3 separate regions of the Homo sapiens genome follow, and regions 1 and 3 are each linked to region 2. The links are contacts of gene promoters, found by promoter capture Hi-C in human tissues and cell types (Jung and others, 2019). All regions are on one chromosome and are shown on one strand. The core of a region is centred on a gene start or on the middle of the fragment in contact, and the rest is flanking DNA. Distances in the headings are between cores, read along the strand shown.

The links. The method cuts DNA at HindIII sites, captures the fragments that hold promoters and counts their contacts. A contact is called where the count stands out against the background at its distance.
Region 1: a fragment that was not itself captured here is called in contact with the fragment with the promoter of GAP43 in region 2 in 3 of the 25 tissues and cell types used here (heart left ventricle, hippocampus and spleen).
Region 3: a contact is called between a fragment that was not itself captured here and the fragment with the promoter of GAP43 in region 2, in 3 of the 25 tissues and cell types used here (dorsolateral prefrontal cortex, heart left ventricle and thymus).

Annotation. Positions count from the first base shown.
Region 1 is chr3:115,550,167-115,554,117 of GRCh38, reverse strand. No RefSeq gene overlaps it. Among named protein-coding and RNA genes, the nearest start is that of GAP43, 71 kb to the left of the region's middle. The HindIII fragment of the contact is 6,816 bases long and covers 1-3,951 here.
Region 2 is chr3:115,621,517-115,625,734 of GRCh38, reverse strand. It overlaps GAP43 (growth associated protein 43), which reads right to left and starts at 2,225. Exons shown (of 3, transcript NM_002045.4): 1 at 2,016-2,225. The coding sequence starts at 2,045. The HindIII fragment of the contact is 4,830 bases long and covers 564-4,218 here.
Region 3 is chr3:115,512,886-115,516,570 of GRCh38, reverse strand. No RefSeq gene overlaps it. Among named protein-coding and RNA genes, the nearest start is that of GAP43, 110 kb to the left of the region's middle. The HindIII fragment of the contact is 4,102 bases long and covers 149-3,685 here.

The DNA of each region.
Region 1 (3,951 bases), core at 1,071-3,570, 72 kb after region 2:
TATATTTAAAACTATAAGCACTTGGTAATCAAAAGAGACTTTTGAACAGGAGCCAGAAAGAATCAAATTATGTCTGTGAGCCAAATCTCTCTTTCTGCATGGTAAAAGATGGACTGGAGAGATAAGAGCCTGGTGGCCAGCAGAAAAATACAGAACTGTGGCAATAATTCATGAAGTGGATTACCTTCCAACCCTGAAATGACACCAACACCCACCCATTTTCTCAAGCAAGATACTTATGAATCATTTCTGATTCCTCCATTTTTCCCAACTACCACACACCATCCAACAACATCGAGTCCTACTGCTTATACTGAAACATTTATACCAAATCCACTGGCTTCCATTCACATCTGCTGCCATCAGCTAGTTCGGTTACACTTCCCTCATTTGAATTCCAACAGCCTCTTAAGGGATCACTAATTCCACTTTCCTCTTAGTAGCAAGAGTAATAATAAACAAGTGAATTACATTGCATCAATCCTTTGCTTAGAATAATTCATTTCCTGTCAAATCTATCTAGAAGGGAATCCAAATTATTTTTCAGGACTTCAAGATCCTGCATCATCTCACTATTGTTTTTCTCCAAACTAATCTCACAGTACTCTCTCCCAAGTTCATTTTCATCCAGTCACAAAGGTCAGCAACATTTTCCCACCTCACTACCTTAGCATAAGTTTATGCTATCCCCTTCACTTAGAATGGTCTTAACTCTAAAGACTCTCACAAAGCTGTTTTATGTTTATCATTTAATTTATGCCCAAATGTTCCTTCCACAGAGTCCGTCCTGACCATCCTATCTGATAGTAGATTTTGTATATTCTTATTCTTCTCCCCTTGTTTGTTTCATGCATGAAAATTGTTAAAATGTATAATTGTTTTCATTCATTTTCTTGTTCGGTTGTTTTTTGTCTGTCTCCTCCACCAGACTGTAATCTCCATGAGGGCAAAGATCATGTCCTTTTTATGTATTCTTGAATTCCCTAGGGTAGTGGTTAGAAAAGAGTAAATGCTCATATATATTTATAAAAGAAATAATGAATGAATGGATTATTGTGATATGATGGAGCGATAGAGTCATCAGTGCATTAATGGCAGTTAGAGGCTCAGAAAGTCAGTGAGATCACAAATAAAGCATGTGGATCTAAGAGGAGTGTGGACAAAATATAGAAGGAAAATCCTAATAATTATGGAGCAGACAGAAAAGAAGGGGCTTGCTAAAGAGGGAGAGGAGGCCATCAGTGGCTTGAGAAAAGAGAGAGGACCGATAGACGATAAGGGGGTGGCTACAACATGCCACATGCTCTGCTGGATCTCCAGCACCTAGCATAATGCCTGGAGTTTAGTAAGTACTCCCAAAACATTTGCCCATCTATGAGATGAAAGATAAAATAAGAATAGATTCAACAATACCAAATGCTAGGAGGAAACCAATAAAGGTAAGGTGTTAGTAATTAAGATGCTACTGGCCACCTTAACAAGAACATTTACTTTCCAGCATACTATCAAATGAATTTGTTTAATCCATTTATTTCTATTGCTTGCTTCCTCTGCTAGAATGTACACTCCATGAAGTCAGGAAATCTTTCATTCTTTACTGATGATACCAAGCTCCCAGAATAATTCCCGAAAAAGGCATGGAGATGAATATTGGCCTTTTCTTTAAAGCCTCAGTGTATACACAAAAAGAATTGTTTTTAAGAAAGCTTATTTCTTCAGTGAGCCCAGATAATAAGAACATCACTATATCATCAAATCAGCCCATTGTTCTACCAGTGAATCAGCTGAATATTAAATGATTCTAGGACTTGTGCGCAATCATCCCCACAGATTTACTGTGTGATCTGGAGATAGGTTTAAATGTCAGCAGCCATTATTTATTGTTCAATCTGCTCAATGCAAGTCAGTCCTTTAAATCTTTTTATGCAACGACAATAGCAAAGACCAGAGGGCCCTATTTTGTCTTTATCATCATGACACACACCCCTTCGTGCTCACTGAAGCTATTGTAGATAACATTATCTCCCCCTCTCTCCACTCTCCCAATTATTTAAGGCCAAAAGAGACACAAGTTTTATGTAGATCAAGGGTTCACTACCCCAGAGAAATCTACAACAACCTTTTCTAATCAATGTGACTAGTCTCACAATTGGCAGATTATTGTCAAATGTAATTTATTCATTTTTAAACTTAGACTATGCTTCTAATGGCTCTATTTTCTTTCTTCACATTTTTCTTGAGCTTTCCTGAGAAACAGATCTGTTTATATTTCCTGGACTTAACAGAGAAATGTGAAATGGTCTTTCTCATGTGTCTGGTGGTTGAACCCTCTTGTAGTTCTGAATATGTTTTTCAACTACTTTAAAAAAAATTAACTCTAAAATTGGACAAAGTTTTAAATTGACTCATGTTGATTTATATTTCTCCATGTTGAAGAAAATGCTACCTGCTAATAGACTAAGGAGGTTTGGGATAGCAAAAGGGAGGGAAGGCAAGTGAGCAGGATGGTGTGAGGAAATGGCAAGTAAAAGGATTAGGAGGGATGGATGCACAAGAAATTTAGAAAATACTTTGGAGGGAGAAATAACTGACTGTGAGCGTGTTTGTACAGAGAGATTGAATATTTTAAGACTAATCATTTATACCTCTGATTTTTAAATAACAGGTGTGCGTCATATATTTAGATGTCAAAAAACTATTGCTACAAGTGACAACAGAGCCAAAAGGATTGCAATAGCAGGACATCAATTCATCAGGACTGCAGAGGAGAGGAGGCATATGTTCTGACTACTCTCCATTGATTGGTCAGCTGCTGTTTCCATAGCAATCCATGCACAGCTCAGACATTTTTTTTTCCCTATCTGCATTACCTCCATTACATAGCAAACAACATCAAGATTAATAAACAGACATACTTGGTGAATGTAATCAGACACTGAAGCCACTGTTCTCATGGCTGATTTTCTAACTGTAGAAAGTTACAGTCTATATCACACTCCAATCACTGACGAAGCAGCAAAGAAATCATATATTTTGTCATATTGTTGGGAAAAATGACTTCTATCTAGATATTTTCTTGGACCACATCCATATGTTTAGGAAAATAATGGAGTGTGCTTTAAGCTGGAAAGAGTGAATCCACTAGGGTTTCTTCAAATTTCTTCATTTACATGTATATTTAGACTTGCATGTAGAATGAGCACATTTATTTAAGGTGTGGCTGGCATCTAAATAGTTCTTTCAGACTATTTAAAACTATTCCTCTGCATTGTGAATCTGAAAATGTAATAATTGCTCATCCTCAGAAACTTGAACCAGAAAGATATTTTTCGTCCAAGTAGCTTGATGCACTGTTCTCTTCTCTAAATGCAACCAAAAATTTCTGAGTCCTCATTGTAGTGGAATTTGTTGCTGTAGTGGAAGTGGCCATCTGCTTTCCATTTACTCTGCTTTTGAAAACAGTACTTGGTTTATCTTTGGGGAAATTATTCCATCCTTTACTCTGAGGTCATGTACTTTGAGGCAGCTAACTCCATTCCCAGCTCCAGGGGTGGGTAGCAGTTTAGCTCAGGAATGACATATCCGGGTCTAATGTTCCCCTAGCAATGGGGCCAAGAATGGGGTCAAGGCCAATCCAGGAGGCAGGACCAGAGTTAATAGTGGAACTTTTGCCTGAGCAACTGGAAAAGAGGCAAGAGTCATTTTGTGGACTTTGGTCTGAGGGAATGAATCTGGAGCAGCTAGAGAGAGAACCTGCCTGGGAATGAGGCCATAAAGAGGAGAGCAGAAACAGGAAATCAAGAGAAAGCTGTAAAATGGGAATCATAGTTGTATTTTCTTCATAGAATGTTGTGAAAGTTAAATGAGTTAGTTATATAAAGTATGTAACAGTCCCTGACATGTAGAAACTGTTCAAGAAATGTTCGCTATTATTGGTATTAACATTGTTTA
Region 2 (4,218 bases), core at 976-3,475:
GTGAGATAGAGCCCCAGGGAAGGCAGCTGTCTTCATTTTGGGAAGGGAATTCCTTTAGCCCTAATTCCTTTTCTAAAAATCATACATGATTTCCTTTATTAAAGGAGATGTATGTATACTTGCATATGTACACATAGGGTGGGAACAAATTATGAACCTGAATATTTTTCTTTCCAAAATTAAAGCTTTTTAAGTGGATGGCTTTGGCTTACTTAGTGCTCCACCTTCCTAAATGTTATTTCCCCAGCTCACCAGTGAAATAACCTCAGGACTTTTCTTTGACAGTGTTCTTAACCCAGACACCTGTATTTATTACATTTATATATTAAAATGAAGGAGGACACAGAGAGAAAATGCCCTGGTTTGATAAAATGAGCCAATGGAAGCATCAATCTCTGTAACCATAGGGCAGTTTCAGGAGATGCTGCAAATACCGCCCCCAACTCAATCCCCCACTATCCGACTTTTTCCCCCAAATAGCCCCACACAATCCAGGATGTCTGCTTATTTATTTATTTATTTATTTATGCCAAATCTCTACTCCCACTGCTCTGACATTCTGCTTCAGTCTCCCATCCTCTTCCTGCTCCTTCTCCTTCATCCTCACTCCCCACCCTTCCTTCCAGGGCGCTGGCTAAATGTGCTAAGCTGGCAGGCTGTTTCTTCTCCACTCTCTTCCACCCCCTTCGGATTCAGGGAGTGTATTACAAATTGCCCAATTTCCAATACCTGCACTGGAAATTATACCCAAATTCCATCTCTTGCACCCCACCCCTAAGGCAATCAGTCTGCGAAGGGCTTCTTTGACCAAGATTGCCCCCACCACACCCCCACCCCCACCACAGTCAAGCATACGCACACACTCACCCGTATCCCACACCCATTTTTCTCTTTAACCTTTGCCAAAATCACTCAAATGCATTCCAACAAATGTTTGAAAGCTTCTTTTGGAGACTGCCATGGCATGGTCGGTTGCTGCGGAATACCACACTCGTCATTCCTTCCCACTCTCACCCCAATCAAGTTTCTAAAATGTCTTTCAAGAAATAAGCGAGCAATTGGAAATGGCTGTAAAACCTGGGCAGTGGGGGAGGGAAGGAGGGGCTCTGATTCTTGCTAATCTTGGATGTGTCCCTCTTCCTGATGAAAATGAGTCACCATACTTATTATCCAGGATGTTAGCCTGTCTCTGGTCACTGACAATCCCAGGAAAGAAGCAAGGGAAGGGGATAAGAGAAAAGACCTGGTTTCCAACAGGTAATACCCGGCTGTCTTTCCCATCCCATCGGAGCTCCTAGGGGCGTGGTCCACCCTCTCCTCCGACCAGCTGGTGCACAATCGGCTGCTGATCTTAGGAAGGGGATTTTCTCCTTCTGCATGGCCAATTTCTCCCCCAGCCCCAGTTGTCTTAGCTTCTCTTAAAAAAAAAAAAAATCTATCAAATCACAGTTTCATTCATTCATTGAAAAATAAATACTAAATAAATAAGACCTGCACGTTTTTCCATAAATACCTGCGCCCCTTCGAAGCTCATGCATGCACGAAATAAGGCATCTTCCGCAGCACATGTGAGAAAATTGTATGACAGAGAGGCAATACTCAGTTCTGAATATTATTTCCTCAACCCTGCTTTTTTGCAAATAATATAAAGAAATGCCTCCCCATCTTGTAGGTAGAGCCCACATCATCTCCCCCACACCCCTTTCTACGTCCACACCCTCAAGACCAGAGACCTCAAATGCTGAGCATTCACTAATAAGAAAAAAAAAAATTATTTCTAGCCAAACAGGCATGTTTTTTCTACCCTCACCCTAATTAGTAGCAGCATTCCAAAACCAGAGCATGAAAGACAGAAAAGAATAAAAGCTGGGATGCAACCATCAGTTACCATATGCTAAGGAAGCGCGAGCACCACGGCCAGAGCAGAAGCAGTAAAAAAATTGTTTGCCTTTACGGGGAAATACTGTACTCGGGTTATTTCACAACAGCAAGAAGTAAAAAATCTTTAGCTCTACCTGTTTGGTTCTTCTCATACAGCACAGCATGGTTGTCTCGTCCCTTGCCTTCTTCCTGCCTTCTCTCCTTTCCTTCTCTCTCTTTCTTATTCCCCCCCTCTCCACCTCTTTTCTGCTCGCTTGCTCACTCGCTCTCTCGCGCTAGCGCGCTCTCTCTCCCTCCCTCCCTCTCTCTCCCTCACACACACCAGGGCAGTTAGCAGCAACTGTAAGGTCCACAGCTATTGCTCATCGCACATGCTCGCTCCCTCTCTCTAGCGCTCTCTCTCTCTCTCCCTCTCTCTCTGGTGCTCTCTCTCCGCTGTCCTCTCTTCCCTCTCTTCTCCTTTTTTCTCCTTCCCCCCAATATCTATCTATCTGTCTTTTTCTTCCCTCTCTCTCCGTCTCTTTCTCGGAATTGTTCTCTAGCCTTCAGTGACTAATCACTTCCCCCAGCCCCTACCCCCATTCTAGACAGTCGCCCCCTCCCAGTCCCCTGCCAGCCTCATGAATATTTAAACACCTCCAATCTGGACCCAATTACCCACCGACTTTTCCACTGCATTGAGAGGGTGATGGGGTGGGGGCAGAGAAGGATATTCCAGTCAATCCAGGAGATATGATAGAGCATGTTTTAGGGAAGAGGGGCTTGAGGAATCCTTGTATTTCTTTAAGAACTCTTTTCCTCTTTTCCTAGTATTATAAAAGCAAAGAACAGCTATTTCTAAAGAGGAATTGTAGTCAGTCCTATACAATATAAGTCATATCTGCCATTACATTTTATGCATAGTTAATAATTGTGGAGGTTAATTTCCCTCAAAAAATGAAATAACATGTAAATATCATACACTGTTTATATATTCTTCTCAGTATACATATAACCTGAAATAAATACAAAGCTTAGATATGCACAAGCATATTTTATATATGTTCCAATATCCTGGAAAAAAATCCACATAAATATATTGCATTTTAAACATTCTAAGCACTTGAGCTCAGAAATAATAAACAATGTTTAAGAATTGGCATCCATATCTAAAATCACATGGTAGTTTTTTGTTTTTTCCTTAATGCACATATACCTGTTTGTAAATTGTGGTTTCTTCTAATTTTACTGAAAAAGCTGAGCACATTCAAACAGGTCTGTGTAATATTGACGGTGATCAAAATGATATTTTACAATTTGGGCATGAGAGATTAAAGTGAATTCATCTGAGATGAGAAGAAACGATAAGTCATGAAGCCTACTTCTTGAATTCCTTCTATGGCCTTTCATAATTTTGGGGGAGGAACATGTGACTCTTAAAGTGTGTATAGCACAATTTTTAGTTATTTATTGTTGAATGAGTTTGAGTGTGTTACTGAAGCTCTTTGCACCTAATTTTCTCATCTTTAAAATGGAGATAATAATGCCAATCTTGACAACATGTTTTGAGGACTAAATGATATAACGCATGCAAAGCACAACAGTCTCTCTGAGTGTATAATAGCTTTACTCCAGAGACTGTACTTTTCTGAAATTCGGGTGACATTTGCAAGTGAATATCTCAAAGAAGTTTTCAAACTATTTCTTGTTGTTCATTAGTGATGACAAGTACCCCTAATTAAACAGCTCATATTCTTCATAGTCCCTCCTAGACCTCCTAGACATAAACCTAGCTAATAAGTGGCAACTAGGCAGCTTATTGTTAGGCATATTTCAGGATCACTGAGCTCAATAAGTGCTTAGTACATTTTAACATAATTTAAGGTATATCTATTTCAAAATGGACTATCTCAGACAGGTACCTGGGAACGATGGTGATGATGATACCCAGGAGGTGATATTTAAAATTAGCCTTAATTATTCCTCAGGAGTCTTCCTGAGAGTGGCCTGCTTCAGATCCGCTGATTTGGTCTTTCATTCTTCTCAGTTTGCTTCCTAGTTTTCATATTTATGATTAAAAAACAGAATTAGTTTCTGAGTTTAATAATTTTTTAATGTTACAAGGAGCCCAGCCGCTTTCAGAACAGCCTTCCGTGATTTTAAGTGATAAAAGAGGACAAAGAGTGGGTGAGAAATGGCTCCTACCAGAAACATTCCGGTTGCAGATTAGGAACACCCTACCTAGCCTGCTAGTGGCTAAAGAGCAATGAAGGGAGGAGGCAGAGAATGTGGGGATTGGGGATGATGGAGAAGAAATTGCACCTTTTGGTGTTTAAACAGGATAACTCCATTGATAAG
Region 3 (3,685 bases), core at 950-3,449, 110 kb after region 2:
GCTGCAGTGGCAGAGTCCTCACAGAGAACCTCTGCTAGGTCAATACAGAGGGAAAATGTGGGAGTTGGAGCCCCCACACAGAGTCCCCACTACTGGAACTGTAAGACCCCAGACCCAGAATGGTAAATCCACCAGCAGCTTGCACCCTGAGCTTAGAAAAGCTGCACGCACTCAACAACAGCCCATGAGAGCAACTGCAGGGGCTGATCCCTGTAAAGCCACAGGGGTGGAGCTGTCCAAGGCCTTGGGAGCCCACCCCTTATACCAGTGTGTGCTGGATTTGGGATATGGAGTCAAGGAACATTATTTTGGAGCTTTAAAGTTTAATGACTGCCCTGCTGGGTTTCAGACTTGCATGGGGCCTGTAGTCCCCTTCTTCTGGCTCCCTTTTGGAGTGGGAGTATTCACCCAATGCCTACAACCACATTTTATCTTAGGAGTAACTAACTTGTTTTTGATTTTACATGCTCATAGGCGGAAGTGCCTAGCCTTGTCTCAGATGAGACTCTGAGCTGTGGACTTTTGACTTAACACTGGAAAGAGTTAAGATTTTGGGAGACTGTTGGGAAGGCATGATTGGATTTTGCACTGTGAGAAGGACATGAGATTTGGGAGGGGCCTGGGGCAGAATGATATAATTCAGATCTGTGTCCCCACCCAAATCTCACCCTAAGTTCCAACTTTAGATCATTTCTTAGCTCACACATATGAGCATAGGCTATTAGCCATGTCATATCTTGAACACTCTGCTGCTTAGAATTTCTTCTGCCACATACCCTAAATCATCACTCTCAAGGGCAAAGTTTCACAGATCCCTAGAGTAGGGGCACAATGCAGCCAGGCTCTTTGCTAAAGCATAGCAAAAGTGATCTCTACTCCAGTTCCCAATAAGTTCCTCATTTCCATATGAGACCTCCTCAGCCTGTACTTCATTGTCCATATCACTATCAGCATTTGGGTCACAACTATCAACAAGTCTCTAGGAAATTACAAATGTGGAGCTGTAATCCCCAATGTCAGAGGTAGAGCCTGGTGGGAGATAATTGGCTCATGGGAGCAGATTTCTGCCTTGGTACGTGTTGCCATAGTGAGAGAGTTCTCCTGAGATCTGGTTGTTTAAAAATGTGTGGCACCTGCCCCACCTCTCTTGCTTCCTTCTGCTCTGGTTGGGTGAAGTGCCTCACTCTCCCTTTGCCTTAAGTCATGATTGTAAGCTTCCTGAGGCCTATCCAGAAACAGAAGCTGCTATACCTCCTGTACAGCCTGTGGAACCATGAACCAATTAAACTTCTTTTCCTTATAAATTACCCAGTCTCAGGTATTTCTTTACAGCTGTGTGAGAATGGACTAATACAAGGATCCTAACCTCTTCAAGGGCTTAAGACGTCCTGTTCTATATCTTTTTTTCCCCTTAATGTCTTGTTTCACTACTTGTTTTTCCCCCTCCATCTTTTCTACTATTTATGACTCAATTTCTTTTTTATGTGTTTATTTTATCCCTTCTGTCTCTTCTTTAAGCTATTAGTGATGTCAAGTGGTCACTCCTCAAATTACTAAACTCATTTCTAGGAATTGCCATGCCATATTGACTATCATTACAAAAATGTACCATGCAAATACATTTGACTGTGTTCAGATGACTGAGGTGTCCACATGTCTATGGGTGTTTATTTGAAGTAAAGAAGCTAGAGGATTATATTCAGTTATCCAGAAACTTGGCAGAATGGCATTAAAGAAAGTAAATTAGGAGTCCAAAGATTCTGCAGTGAACCATGTGAGAAGAATGAAACAATAAAAATAAAATAATTTGACTCTTGGCTTTCTGCCCTTTTTCATTAAAAATTGCTAATATTCTGCTTCATTGCCAAAACTCTGGGAAGATGTTTTTTATTATACCTATATTCCTCAGCCAACTGAGAGTAGGGCCTTGAAAACAAGCCCTTCGTAACTAATATCTCAATGACACAGAAACTATGACTAGTTTGAGCACATGTGGCTTCTTTTTCCTGTCCTTTCTAGAAATAATTGCCCTCCTTTAATTTCATTTCTGCCTGATATCTTCCATCCAAAGGCCAAGACTTAGCCTTTGGCTTCTGTGTCCTTTAATGTATTCCTGAATATCTCCTAATTTTCTAATGAAAACTTGATAGTTCATGACCGAGCAACACGCACTAAGTTCAGACCATAAGTGTTACATATTTCAAAAATTTCTCCAACATTTGTGATGGAGCTGCCAATCATCTCTTAATTCCTATGTGCCATGACTCTGAAAATGAGCCCCAAATGGCACAAATACCTTCTTTATTTCAGCCCTGTCTCAACTACAAAATAATCTCAATGCCCTTCATATGCCTATGGTTCTCACTCAGCCTAAACCCAAATACATTTTAAAGCGTTCTTTCTCACAATTCTACCTTCTGGGTTTATTTTTAAATGAAACCATTAAAGCTTGAACCTCTAATATCAAAATAAAATGGGTTAGGCAAGTGGTAAAAATGGAATAGAAGCCAAGCCAGAGTTTCCTATAAGTTGCAGCAATAGCAATACGTCATCAGAGAGGGAAAAAATAGGAAAATTAGCTTGCTCTGTCACTTGACAATTTTACAGAACTGGAATTTTATATGGAATAGGCATTTGGGTTAAACTTTTTCTATTCTACCCCTGCAGAACTTTTCCCTGCGCTTCTCTCCTCTGCATCTATTATAAAAGTCTAGACCTCAGAGGCAACTAATATAAACTGCTTTCCCCTCCTCCTTGTATCTAATTAATTTCACCTTCCTTGGAGTTCCCATGGTATATATTACCTGCTGCCAGGCACCATGAGTCATTTGTGAACATATCCGCCTCCCCAGCCAGAATGTATGCACCTTGAAGGCAAAGAACATCTCACTCATTTTGCATACACTTGGCTCGAAGTAGTCCTCTGAAAGTGTTTATTAAATTGAATTGCTTTCACTTTGTAAGATTAGCAGGCACTTTGATTAATGGCTTTTTCTTTTTTTCAAAGACTTCCTTTTTTGGTGCAAACTCCACGTGACCCGCAGTTATCTAGGGCAGTAAGTAATGTTCAAGTGATTATAGCAGAAAGCTAAGATTCCACCAGCGCTCTGGGAGTTGCAGGGGAGATCAGCAGAATCACATGCTTAATATTTTAAAGAAGTGGCATGGTCCTTTCATGGAGGTTTCTGCCATCGATCCCTTCCAAGGATTCAGTCACTCAGCCACATTTAACATTCACTAGGTCAGACCTTTATTCAAGCTGACGTCATCTGAACCCTCGTGCAATTCAATCATAGCATACATTCTGCCCAACCTCCTCCTACTCCTCCCCCAGCCTCTTGCTAGGGTGTCAGCCAATAAACAGCAGTTAATCCAGACCCCAGAACTTTTCGAATCCGTCTTTCCAGAGCTTCTATTTAGTTATGCTGCAGGGGAAAGGGTCGAGAGTGAAAGATAGAGGCGTGGCCCCTCCCATAGCAGCAATGAATCTTTAAGACTTGAGTCTCTGGGCAAAGAGAGAACTCTCCCTTTCTTCTTGGAAATGAAATCGAGCAGCACTATCAGCCAGGGGCCAGCCACATGAAAAGGGATTCCTAGTTGCCTGTCCCTTACTCCCGGATGTCAGAAAGAAGTCGGATATTTCTCACGCAAGAAATAAACACCCCTCTGCCCGCTGCTGCTTCCT